Linked DNA regions of Homo sapiens: region 1 is linked to region 2. Evidence: promoter capture Hi-C in human tissues and cell types (Jung and others, 2019). All regions are on one chromosome and are shown on one strand. Each heading gives the region's core, a stretch centred on a gene start or on the middle of the fragment in contact. The rest is flanking DNA. Distances are from core to core; before and after follow the strand shown. Region 1 has its middle 81 kb from the start of FOXD2. Region 2 holds the start of FOXD2 (forkhead box D2).

Evidence for each region. Contacts are between HindIII fragments. The study calls those that stand out against the background at their distance.
Region 1: a contact is called between a fragment that was not itself captured here and the fragment with the promoter of FOXD2 in region 2, in 4 of the 25 tissues and cell types used here (bladder, mesenchymal stem cells, mesendoderm cells and 1 more).

What each region holds. Positions count from the first base shown.
Region 1 is chr1:47,516,451-47,522,280 of GRCh38, forward strand. No RefSeq gene overlaps it. Among named protein-coding and RNA genes, the nearest start is that of FOXD2, 81 kb to the left of the region's middle. The HindIII fragment of the contact is 5,422 bases long and covers 1,777-5,830 here.
Region 2 is chr1:47,434,601-47,440,453 of GRCh38, forward strand. FOXD2 (forkhead box D2) reads left to right here and starts at 3,444. Exons shown (of 1, transcript NM_004474.4): 1 at 3,444-5,853. The coding sequence starts at 3,536. The coding sequence ends at 5,023. LINC01389 (long intergenic non-protein coding RNA 1389) reads right to left here and starts at 2,717. Exons shown (of 5, transcript NR_126355.1): 1 at 2,690-2,717. It overlaps FOXD2-AS1 (FOXD2 adjacent opposite strand RNA 1), which reads right to left and starts at 41. Exons shown (of 1, transcript NR_026878.1): 1 at 1-41. RefSeq lists enhancers at 1-41, 4,862-5,631 and silencers at 1,924-2,083, 2,564-3,463, 3,494-3,673. The HindIII fragment of the contact is 12,527 bases long and covers 1-5,853 here.

The DNA.
Region 1 (5,830 bases), core at 3,238-5,737, 83 kb after region 2:
AACCTCTTTTTTTTTTTTTTGAGATGGAGTCTCACTCTGTCACCTAGGCTGGAGTGCAGTGGTGCGATCTTGGCTCACTGCAACCTCCACCTCCTGGGTTCAAGCAGTTCTCCCACCTCAGCTTCCTGAGTAGCTGGGACTACAGGTGCCCTCCACCATGCCAAGCTAATTTTTGTACTTTTAGTAGAGATGGCGTTTCACCGTGTTGGCCAGGCTGGTCTCGAACTCCTGACCTCAAGTGATCCTCCCACCTCAGCCTCCCAAAGTGTTGGGATTATAGGCGTGAGCCACCATTTCTGGCCGCCTTTTTATTTTTCATCTACACATCAGTCCCCAAGCCCTCTACCATCAACCTTTTAATGGCAGGGCTGCTGTTTTCCTCATTGAGCTGTCCCAGAGTCTGGCTCAAAAGTGCTTAGTGAGAGCTGGATTAATGATGGCCTCTGAGGCTGTGTAAGGTGGAGTATTTTGAAGAATCCAGATAGTGAGTGTCCAGGGTGTTTCTGGTCCCTGTTCTATCTGAAGACTGCTTCCTGGAAGATGGGAGCTGAGCTAGCCCCTGGAAGATGGGATGAGAGGCTTGTTCAGCTGGAGTGGAGCACCAGAATGCTAAAGATTAGGAGCCATAAGCCACATGAGCCACAGCTGGAAAGGCACGAGAGGCAAGGGCAATCCACAGTGCAGTCTTGGTGGCAGAGTGAGGGAGATTCCCAGGGTAGCTCCGGAAGGAACTTCACTAGACCTCTCTCCTGGCCTCTCCCAGGGCTCTTGCCTCTGCTTTCAGTGACAAAGAGCTTACCACCTCACTAGAGGGTGATCCTGTGGTGTTTCCTGGAAGAGTACCTTGGGTAGAGGCATCTGGAGATGACAGAGGGGTAGGCGTGGGCTGGGGGGTCAGGGAAACTATTCTGGATGTGGAGGGGGATAATTAGCTCCTCAGTGCTGACTGGCTGGGTACCACGTGATAAGCACAGTGCTGGACAAAGAGTCACAGATTACCTTGTCTTCTGACCAATAGTGGGAGTCCTGGGTTACAGTTCTGAAGCTCACTTAAATGTGTAACATGTACACATAAAAGCCTAAGCTTTGGGATGAGACAGGTAGAGCACAAACCCCAGCCTCACCACCTACCACCAGGTTCCTTTACACAAATAATCTCTCCAAATTCAGTTTTCTTATGTGTAAAATGGGGATAAAGACCCCTATTTCTTGGGGGTGGGGTAGAATACGTGGGCCACAGGAGAGTTTGGAAAATGATGGCCATTCCCACAGTGGTATCTCACCTTTATCATCCTTACACATGTCGTCTCTCCAGCTGGGGATCTCAGGTTCTCTTATGGTTCCAACCACAGTCCATGTATCAACAACACAAACCTCAATCTGTCTCTAGATCTTTCTAGAGCTGTAGACTGGCTGTCCATCTGCCTCCTGGTCCGTCTCCTGGATTTGGGACCAGAAACCTGGGTTAGCTCCCATAGTTCCTTGATTCTTTGATTACAAGATTTGCAGGCCCATGCTTTCCTCTCTAGCCTTTCTGTCAACAGCTTCTCTCCCTTTTACCCCCTCCCATCTTACTCTGGCAACACAGAGCATTTCTCAGTCCCCTCAGTGTTGCTCCACTGGCCCTGCTACCTCTTAGCTTCTGCTCACACTCATGTATCTGCTTGGAACACCCTCCCCTCACTCTCTACCCAGCTACCTCTTACTTCTCCTTTCGGTTTAGATGTCACCTCCTGAGACTCAGATTGCCGTGGTCTAAATGTATGCATCCCTCCCACCCTCAAATTCATATGTTGAAACCTAACCTCCAAGGTGATGGCATTAAGTATTAAGAGGTGGGGCCTTTGGGAGGTAACTAGGTCATGAGGGCAGAGCCCTCATGAATGGGATTAGTGCCCTTATAAAAGAGGGTCCAGGGAACTTCTGCCATGTGAGGGTGCAATAGCAAGGCACCATCTTTGAAGCGGAGAGCTAGCCTTTACCAGATACTGAATCTGCCAGTGTCTTGATCTTGGACTTCCCAGTCTCCAGAACCATAAGGAATAAATTTCTGTTGTTTATAAATTACCCGGTCTAAGGCATTTGTTATAGCAGCCTGTGCAAGCTAAGACACGGGTGGTCTGGGTGCTATGGCTGCAGTATCCTAGTAGTGGTGGGGCAGCTATGCATTCATTCATTTGTTCACTCATTCACTCAGCAAGCACTCATGGAGCTCATATTCAGGCACTGTGGTACTAGAACACTGAAGGGAGATGTACAGCACATGCTTAAGAGTAGTGACTTAGCTGCTCACCTGGCCAAAGTATGACTCCTGACCCTGCCACTTTCCAACTGTGTAACCTTGAAAACCTGTCTAACCTCTCTGAGCTTTAGATTCCACAAGGTAAAATGGGGGAAAACATGGGCCTTTTCTCTGAGGATTGCTGTGAAGATGAATAGGGATAACCCACATTATGTGGTTAGCCAAGCTTGGCCTGTAGCCACTCAGTGCTTAGTGATTGCTACTGCAAAGCCTCAGCTTAAGGGCCACAGGGCATTATTATCATTATTATGAATAAGACTCAGTGCCTGTATCCTTCAGAGTCCCTGGATCTGGTGGCAGAAACTGGCCTATAAATAGGAAATGATAATAAGGGCATGGGGGTAGCCAGAGAGGGCTATATAAGAGTGGAGTCAGGGCCAGGAGTGATGTCTCATACCTGTAATCCCAGCACTTTGGAAGGTCGAGGTGGGCAGATTACCTGAGGTCAGGAGTTCAAGACCAGCCTGGCCAACATGGTGAGACCCCCATCTCTAATAAAAATACAAAAATTAGCCTGGCATGGTGGCACACACCTGGAATCCAAGCTACTCCAGAGGCTGAGGGAGGAGAATCGCTTGAACCCAGGAGGCTGAGGTTGCAGTGAGCCGAGACGGCACCATTGCACTCCAGCTTGGGTGATAGAGCGAGAATTCGTCAAAAAAAAAAACAAAAACCAAACAAACAAAAAACCAAAAAACTAATCTCTAGTGTGTTAGAAGTCAGAACAGTGTTTGCCTCTGGAGGGTGGAATTGACTGGGGAAGGTTTTGAGACTCCGTCTCTAAAAAAAATAGAAAAACGGGTGGAGTCAGGACCGGGGCCCAGGTCTCTGACTACAGCATCGTGCTACTCAGAGTTGTGATTTCAAAGTGTGTTTTACTGGACTGTGAGCTCCCTGAAGGCCAGAGCCTTATCTGATCCAACTCAGTGGGCCAAGGACAGGTTGATGCACCCAAGAATGTCTGATGGATGACTGAATACATCATGTTATGAATCAGTGATGGTGTGGGCAGGGAGGGAGGGTGGATGAAGACATGATGGATCAGGAGGAGGTATAGCCTTGACTCTGCCCAAGGCAGTTAATCCTTTTAAAACTAAGTTTCTTTAGCTATAGAATGGGCATCAGCCATACAGACCACACAGTGGCTTTGAAGATTCGATGTGAGAAAAGCCCTGGACACTGGCCGGTGAGTGCAGCTTTTGGGCAGCAAAGCAGGATAAGCACCTGGAGTGGGGCTGGGGCTGCTGATGACTGTGGAACTCTGGCTGAAGGGCACACTATCCTCTGAGAGGAGAAGGTGAGCACTGGAGTGACATGAGACTCTCTGTCCATCTGTGCAGGGAGCTACATGAGCAAACAGAGCCGTCCACTGGTGAACAAGGCCATCCCTGGCTGGCCTGTCTGTCACTCACAATAAGCCAGGACTTATCTCTTTAGGTCAGCGTGGGCCTTTGGGGAAGAGCTGTCACTGTCCTTGCCTGCTGAGGAGGGCCCTGTCTCCAGGAAGAGCTGTGCTTGCTGAAGAGCTATCACTGACTCAGGAGGCATCTTTAACCTAGCTCCAACTGCATGGCCCAGGATTTGAAGCCGGCATTAATTGACCTGAGAGTTGTTCATGTAGGAAGAAGTTTGCTGGCACCTGGGAAGTCAATACTAATAATAATAGTCTTTCCATAGGCCCAGCACCCTACAGTTTGCAAATTCTCTTCCTCCTCTCCTCCCACTTAACAAATTTCCTTCTTTGGCTTTCTTACAAGCCTTGGAAGATAAAATAGTATTTTCACGATCATTTATCAGAAAATAAAGCTGAAGCCCAAGGACGACGAGTGCCTTGTCCAGGTTTCTAGGCAAGTCCAGGGCAGAGCTGGGACCAAGACGCCCGTGTCCTGATTCCTAGCCATGCCTCTTTGCTCTGTAGTCCTAGGAGGTGACTTCTTGGCCAAGCACGCATGACCACCTCCAGCTTCTTGGACAGCCACAAAGCATCAGGTTTACTGGACTCAGGGGCCTTTAGGTGAATCCTTCACACTTTGGTTGGCCATCTTCCATTTTTGTGGGTTTTCTCTGCGCCTTACCTCAGCAGAGGCTCAGAAAGGGGCTTGAAGGTAAGGTGTTGTGTACAGGACAGCCGGGCTAAGTGGGGGCTTCCATGTCTACTACTCACAGGGTATAAATGATAAATGGAATTGGGGGCTGAGGGATGCTGGGATTCCCTTTGTACAGAGGCCATGAAGGCACCAAAGGGGGTGGTGATTGGGAATCTGGAGTGAAGGCAGGAGAAAGGCCCTGCCCCACCCTCATCTAGGAGGCATCATAACCCAGTTAAGGCCACTCTGGAGCCAAACACATGAGGTTCCAATCCCTACCCGTCCACTTCTCAGGGAGCACTTTACAATCTCTATGCCTTAGCTTGCTCAGACTTAAAATGGCACAGTCATACTAGCATAGGGCTCATTGGGTTGTCAGGAGGATTGAATGAGGTGATACGTGTACAGTTCCTGGAACAATGCCTTAAACACACGGGAAACATTCGACATGACCTTGATTTGCTCTCCCCTGGCCAGAAGGGAGGGAGATAGACCTTTTACAGTTGGATATTTCCTCTCCTTTGGGAAGTCACAGCTCAGGGATTACCTGGGAGGGTGAGGGTGACCATGCCCATCTACCCCCTTGCCAGAGCTGAAGAGGGAAGGGGCGGGGCTGTGAGATCTGTGGTGTGGTGCTGAAGGAGCTGCTGCCTCACAGCCTCATGCCCAGCCCGTCCCCGGTGATAAATCACAAACATATTTTTAATGATTATTTAAAGCTCTTGGCTGCATGCCTGTTCTGGAAGGGCCATCTTAGCCCTTGTCAGGCCGTGGCAGATTGAAGGGAAGCTTGCACATCACTTATTGAGGGTGACTTCTTTTATTCCATTATTTTTATAATAGACTCACTGACAAAATATTGTTCTTGGCCCCAGCCTGGCCCCTTTGCTTGTGTTCGGAGGTAACAGGCTGCCCCGGCCAGGGAACTGCAAGTTTCCCATCAAGAGGGAGGCAGACAAGGGCTCGGCAATTCCTCATCCACCAGAGTATTATTTGCAGGGTGAGGAGGGAGTGAGTCTTGCAGGGTGAGGAGGGAGTGAGTAGTTAGCAGCCTTGTTTAGTGAACTGTAGGCCTGGGCCCAAGTCCCCTCCGCTCAGTTCCGAGGGGTGAGAAATGAGGCAGAGAGGAGAGATCAGGGGGTTGTGTGTGCTTCCCGGTTCTGTTTTCATTCACTGGCAAACATTTATACTGAGCACACATGCTCAGCACTGTCCCCACCACACCCTGCCAAACAGGGCCATCTAGGAAAGTGATCATCAAACTGTGCCTCATGGAACCCTAGGGTTCAGAAATTACAACACTGGTATTTTCTGGAAATTACCAGGATGGGGTATGTAGGAAAGAAGTGGAGCTCTGGGCCTGCCACCCCATCCTCAGCCTGAGTAGCCCTGATTTTATTTTGCTTTGACTTTGAGCTTCTCTCTAAGGTTTCATTTGAAG
Region 2 (5,853 bases), core at 2,194-4,693:
TCACGCGGGATCGCAGGCACTGCTGCAAGACGCCGAACAGGCTGAGCCGGTAGGCGAAAGAAGTAAGGGTCACAGAAGAAGCAAAGAAAACGAAATAAATTCCGAATCCCGCGGTGGCCCTTCTCCCAGTCCCCAGTGCACTTACTCCTGACACTGTTGAAAACAAACTGGCCCAGAACCTTGGAAGGGAGGAGAGGCTACTAGAAATCCCTCTATACAGAGAGGAGCTCGGTTAGAGAAACAGCTATTTGGATAAACAGAGGGGTTCTGGGCTAGGAACCCGGACACGTAGGTCCAACCCAGCTTAGCGCCCCTCAAAAGCCTGACAAGTAACATGATCTCCTGGACCTCAGTTTCCGCTCCTGTAAAAAGTATGTATGTGAAGGGTCTGGATTCTCCCTCCCCAACCCTGCAGAGCAGAAGCTGGGGATTCTGTACTCCCCTTCCCCAGTGTAGGTCTCAGTAGCAGTGAACGTGCAGCAAGGCCAGGCAGAGGCAAGGGCTGGCTGCTGTAGCTGCTTGGTAGAACTTCTCTGAAGCAGGAAATTTGGGCAGCAAGTGCCCTGGCTAGTCTCACCCTGACCAAAGCCTGGGGAGCCAGGGGAGTGCTGGCAAGGAAGGAAGCTACTGGTTCCCATTTGCTGTTTTAGAAACGAGGACATTCAGGCCGGGCAGGGTGGCTCACGCCTGTAGTCCCAGCACTTTGGGAGGCCGAGGCGGGTGGATCACCTGAGGTAGGGAGTTTGAGACCAGCCTGACCAACATGGAGAAACCTCCTCTCTACTAAAAACACAAAATTAGCCGGGCATGTTGGTGCCTGCCTGTAATCCCAGCTATTTGGGAGGCTGAGGCAGGAGAATCATTTGAACCTGGGAGGCTGAGGTTGTGGTGAGCTGCTGAGATCAGGCCATTTTACTCCAGCAGGGGGGCAACAAGAGCGAAACTCAGTCAAAAAAAAAAAAAAAAAAAAAAAAGAAAAGAAAAAAAAGAAATGAGGACATTCAGAAGGTGAAATGGAGTAGGATGACGCCAACACTGTTTTTCTCTCCACTTGTTTAGATACTAGCAGAGTTGAGCTGGGTTGGAGTTGGTGTGTGGTCCATGGTGTGGGGTATCTGTGAGTGGGGTTCTGGGAGTGTGAGACAGATATCCATGTAGTCAAGAGCAAGCTTGAGGTATGTGTAGGGTTGCCAGATAAAATAAATCTGCTAAATCTAGCAACCCTAGGTATGTGAGTTTCCTTGGACTCATGCAAGAAGCTTCTCTCCAAGACCTTTTTCCCCGGACAGTCTGTCACCCAGGAAATTCCAATTCCAGGGCTACTAGTCCCTGTCCAATTTGCTGTCCATGGTTTGAGGACGAGATTTCTCTTTTTTCCAATGACAGTTTATGCTGGAACAGCACATTAAATGGATCCCCTTGGTCAGAGGTCCCAGAGGGGGCCCAGGCGACTTCCTCTCAAAGGACATGAGTAGTCAGACCTGCCTTCCATTTTTTTCTGCCCTTACCTTGGGGGGATGAAGAACTCTATTTTGAGGATTCTGTGAAAAGGGTTGCAACCCAACTCTGTTCTATTTCTTTGCAGGAGCCTGGGTGAGTTCTTTCTCCCTATCCTGGGCCTCTGTAGCTCCATCTGTGGAATGGGAGAGTTGGATTAACACCAGGCTATCCCGTAGATTGGAGGCTGCTGTTAGATGAAACTGCAAAGTGTTCTCAGTACCCTTTCCTAAATGGCCTAGAATATGGCTACACTTATACATCAGTTCTGAGGTAGGTGTTACTAGCCTCATTTTTACAAAGGCAGAAACAAAGCGCAAAGAACCTTGCCCAAGGTGACAGATAGGGTAAGTAGTGAAGGCAGGATTGGAACCCCAGGAGCCTGACTTAAGGTCGCTGCTCTTAACTACTATGCAGACCAGGAAACTGAGGCTCCGAAGCGGGGAAGTCACCTAATGAGGGTCACACAGCCTTGCTACAGCGGAGGCAGCTGGGATTCCGGCCTCGCACGCCCGAGCTTTAGCCACTGTGCGGCGCTGTCGGGGCAGCAGCCCAGGCATCCGCTCAGTTCCTGCTCACGTCCAGCGCCCATCTCCCCTTCCGTGCCCCAGAGGCTGAAATGGGCCCAATCTGTGTTGAAGCTGCTTGTTTCTGGGTCCTGGAGGGAGGCCGGGGGAGAAAGAGGTCTAATAGGATGGGCAGGAACCCGGCTAGCGAGAAACAAGGCACAGGGCCAACCTTAGTTGCACAAGACTTTTGAGAGATGAAGGCAACACTTGGTGGAGGTCAGGGTTCACTGAGGGGGTGTCGGGCAGGGGGCGGAGGAGGTCCTGCCGCCTGTCGGTGGGGCCCAGAACCCTGGGAGCCAGGAAGGTGGGGGGTGTCCAGTCCTCAGGGCAACTGGGGCCAGGGAGAGGGGAGGGAGAAATTAAGCGGATTCCCAGACCCATGAACAGACATCCAGACAAATGCCGTTTCCACAGAGACTCACGGAGAGTGAGATAGTCACAGAGACTGAGACAAACGGATGCCGAGATCCAGAGGGTCGGAGAACAGGCAAACTCGGAGCAGTAGACCGGCCCGCGCCCCGGGAACGCGGCCACAGCGGCCGGCGCTCTGCCCGGCCTCTCCGCGCGGAGAGGGGTGGCGGGCCCGACAGCGGAGGGAGGAGAGGGCGCCGCCGCAATCTCACCTCTCCCAGGCCCAAGGCTGCGGGCGCCAAGTTCGCTCCTGGTGATCACTCGAATGCGTCTCCCCTCGGGCTGGAAGCCGTGCGGGCTCGGGTGGGCGCCGGCGGGCCGCGCTGGGGCGGCGTGGGTCCCGGCGTCTCAGCCTCGCGCTCCCACTGCGCTTCGGCCCGGTGGCCCGGGCGCCGCCTTGGGGAGAGGACGGGTGGGGACCGCCGCCACTTCCCTGGCTGCGGCTGGCGCCCGAGTGAGCCTTAACATCCAGGGGCTGAGCGTTCTGAAGGCGGCGGCTTCAGGGAGCACAGGGTGCAGGAGCGGCGGCGAAGACAAGGGCCCGCCTCCGGCCACTCGAGCCCAGCTCCCGCCGCGGCGGCGGTTTGTTCCCGCCGGGTCCCTCAGCGGAGGCGCTACGCCCGCCCCTGTCGCCTCGCCCCACCCCGCCCAGGGAGCTCCGCCCTAGCCCGCAGCTCTTCCGCCTTAGGCAGCCGCTAGGCGGGAGGGACAATCCCCCACCACCAACCACTGCCACCCCGAGGGGACTAGGGGCTGAGGCCCGCCCAGGTAAGGGAAAGCCTCAGCTCCTTCCGTTGCGCCCCAGCGGCGGGTCCCAGCTCGGATTCCCGGGGTAGTGGCGGGGGCCGCCGGCGGGTCGTGCCCTGGAAGGTGAGCGCGGCCGAGCTGGGCCGCCAGGGGGCGCTGCGGAGCCGGGGGACACCCCTCCCTGCCTGCCTCAGTCCCCCGCCCCCTCCCCGCCCGCGCGCAAAACGCACTCGCCCCAGAGGCAGCGCGGCCGAGCCCGAGCCGCTGCCGGAGCGGAGCCGGAGAGTGGCGGCGGCGGCGGCAGCGGCACCATGACCCTGGGCAGCTGCTGCTGCGAGATCATGTCCTCCGAGAGCTCCCCGGCCGCGCTGTCCGAGGCCGACGCAGACATAGACGTGGTGGGCGGCGGCAGCGGCGGGGGGGAGCTCCCAGCTCGCTCCGGGCCCCGCGCCCCCCGGGACGTGCTCCCCCACGGCCACGAGCCTCCCGCGGAGGAAGCCGAGGCAGACTTAGCCGAGGACGAGGAGGAGTCTGGTGGCTGCTCGGACGGCGAGCCCCGCGCTCTGGCGTCCCGGGGGGCGGCGGCCGCAGCGGGGAGCCCGGGGCCAGGCGCCGCGGCGGCCCGCGGCGCAGCGGGGCCCGGGCCGGGACCGCCGTCGGGGGGCGCGGCGACGCGGAGCCCGCTGGTGAAGCCGCCCTACTCGTACATCGCGCTCATCACCATGGCCATCCTGCAGAGCCCCAAGAAGCGGCTGACGTTGAGCGAGATCTGCGAGTTCATCAGCGGCCGCTTCCCCTACTACCGGGAGAAGTTCCCCGCCTGGCAGAACAGCATCCGCCACAACCTCTCTCTCAACGACTGCTTCGTCAAGATCCCCCGCGAGCCGGGCAACCCGGGCAAGGGCAACTACTGGACGCTGGACCCGGAGTCGGCCGACATGTTCGACAACGGCAGCTTCCTGCGGCGTCGCAAGCGCTTCAAGCGGCAGCCCCTGCCGCCGCCGCACCCACACCCGCACCCTCACCCGGAGCTGCTGCTGCGTGGCGGGGCCGCGGCGGCGGGGGATCCCGGCGCTTTCCTGCCCGGCTTCGCTGCCTACGGCGCCTACGGCTACGGCTACGGGCTGGCTCTCCCGGCCTACGGCGCACCCCCGCCGGGGCCGGCCCCGCATCCGCACCCGCACCCGCACGCCTTCGCTTTCGCCGCGGCAGCCGCCGCCGCTCCTTGCCAGCTGTCGGTACCCCCAGGCCGCGCCGCCGCGCCTCCACCCGGACCTCCGACGGCCTCGGTGTTCGCAGGCGCGGGATCGGCCCCAGCTCCTGCGCCTGCCTCAGGCTCGGGCCCGGGCCCGGGCCCCGCAGGCCTGCCCGCCTTCCTGGGCGCGGAGCTGGGCTGCGCCAAAGCCTTCTACGCGGCGTCCCTGAGTCCTCCCGCAGCCGGCACCGCGGCGGGTCTGCCCACCGCACTTCTGCGCCAGGGCCTCAAGACGGACGCGGGCGGTGGTGCAGGCGGCGGGGGCGCCGGGGCAGGGCAGAGGCCTTCCTTCTCTATAGACCACATCATGGGCCACGGTGGCGGCGGGGCAGCACCCCCGGGCGCCGGCGAGGGCTCTCCGGGACCGCCATTCGCGGCAGCCGCGGGTCCTGGGGGCCAAGCCCAGGTCTTGGCCATGCTGACTGCTCCGGCCCTGGCTCCCGTTGCTGGCCACATTCGCCTCTCGCATCCCGGGGACGCGCTGCTGTCCTCAGGGTCCCGGTTTGCCAGCAAAGTCGCCGGCCTTAGTGGCTGCCACTTCTGACCGCAGCAGGCCCAGGGCCGGTTAGGTCCGCACTCCTCAGCCTCTCCCGGGAGTTCCTGCGGTCCCAGCGGAACTCAGGGAGTCTATTTATGAAGTCTCCAGACCTTGGGCCGGCACGCGTGACACGGCACTTCAGGCTCCACGCACAGAATCTCGCAGATAGTTGGGACTAAGCGGGCTCTATCGCTCAGGGCGACAGGCCCGGGGCTACGCGAAGAAGTCGCAGGCCAAGATTCTTTACAGTTTGAGAAATAAAAGCAGGGGGGTGGGGGCTTCGTTTTTTTCCCTGCCTCTGCGCCTCTCGGGGAACACATTCCGGGAGAGATGCCTGGCCAGGCTCCACGGATCCCGCCAGAAACACCAACAGAGGGTCTCCCTTTCTGCCTTTCCCCTCTCACTTCTTCCCCAACGTTGAGACCCTGCTTGTCCAATATTATAATTTAAAGACATCTATTATCTGCTTTGTGCTTAAAAGAAAAATTCAACCTTTTTTTTTTTTTTTTTTTTTTTGCTGTTCTCCAAGGAAGTTCGTTTCCTCTGAAGCCTAAACCAGTGTCTACGCAGGCGGAGCTGAACGGAGAGGTGAAGCAGGGGGTCTTTATATTCCCTGCAGAAACCCTGGATCCCACTCCACTGAGGAAAATCCTTTCTCTTTTGTGTTTGGGTGCTTTTAAAGGAATTTCTTTCCTTTCCCTTGGCTGGCTGGGTCCAGCCATCTCCGGCCAGCAACCCTGTCAGTGTTCCACCCTGTCCCAGGCCCTGTGATATTTATTGTGGCTAAAGGCAATGAGATTGGGTGGAAGAGAAGGGTCTGGGCCAGGGACTGGAGA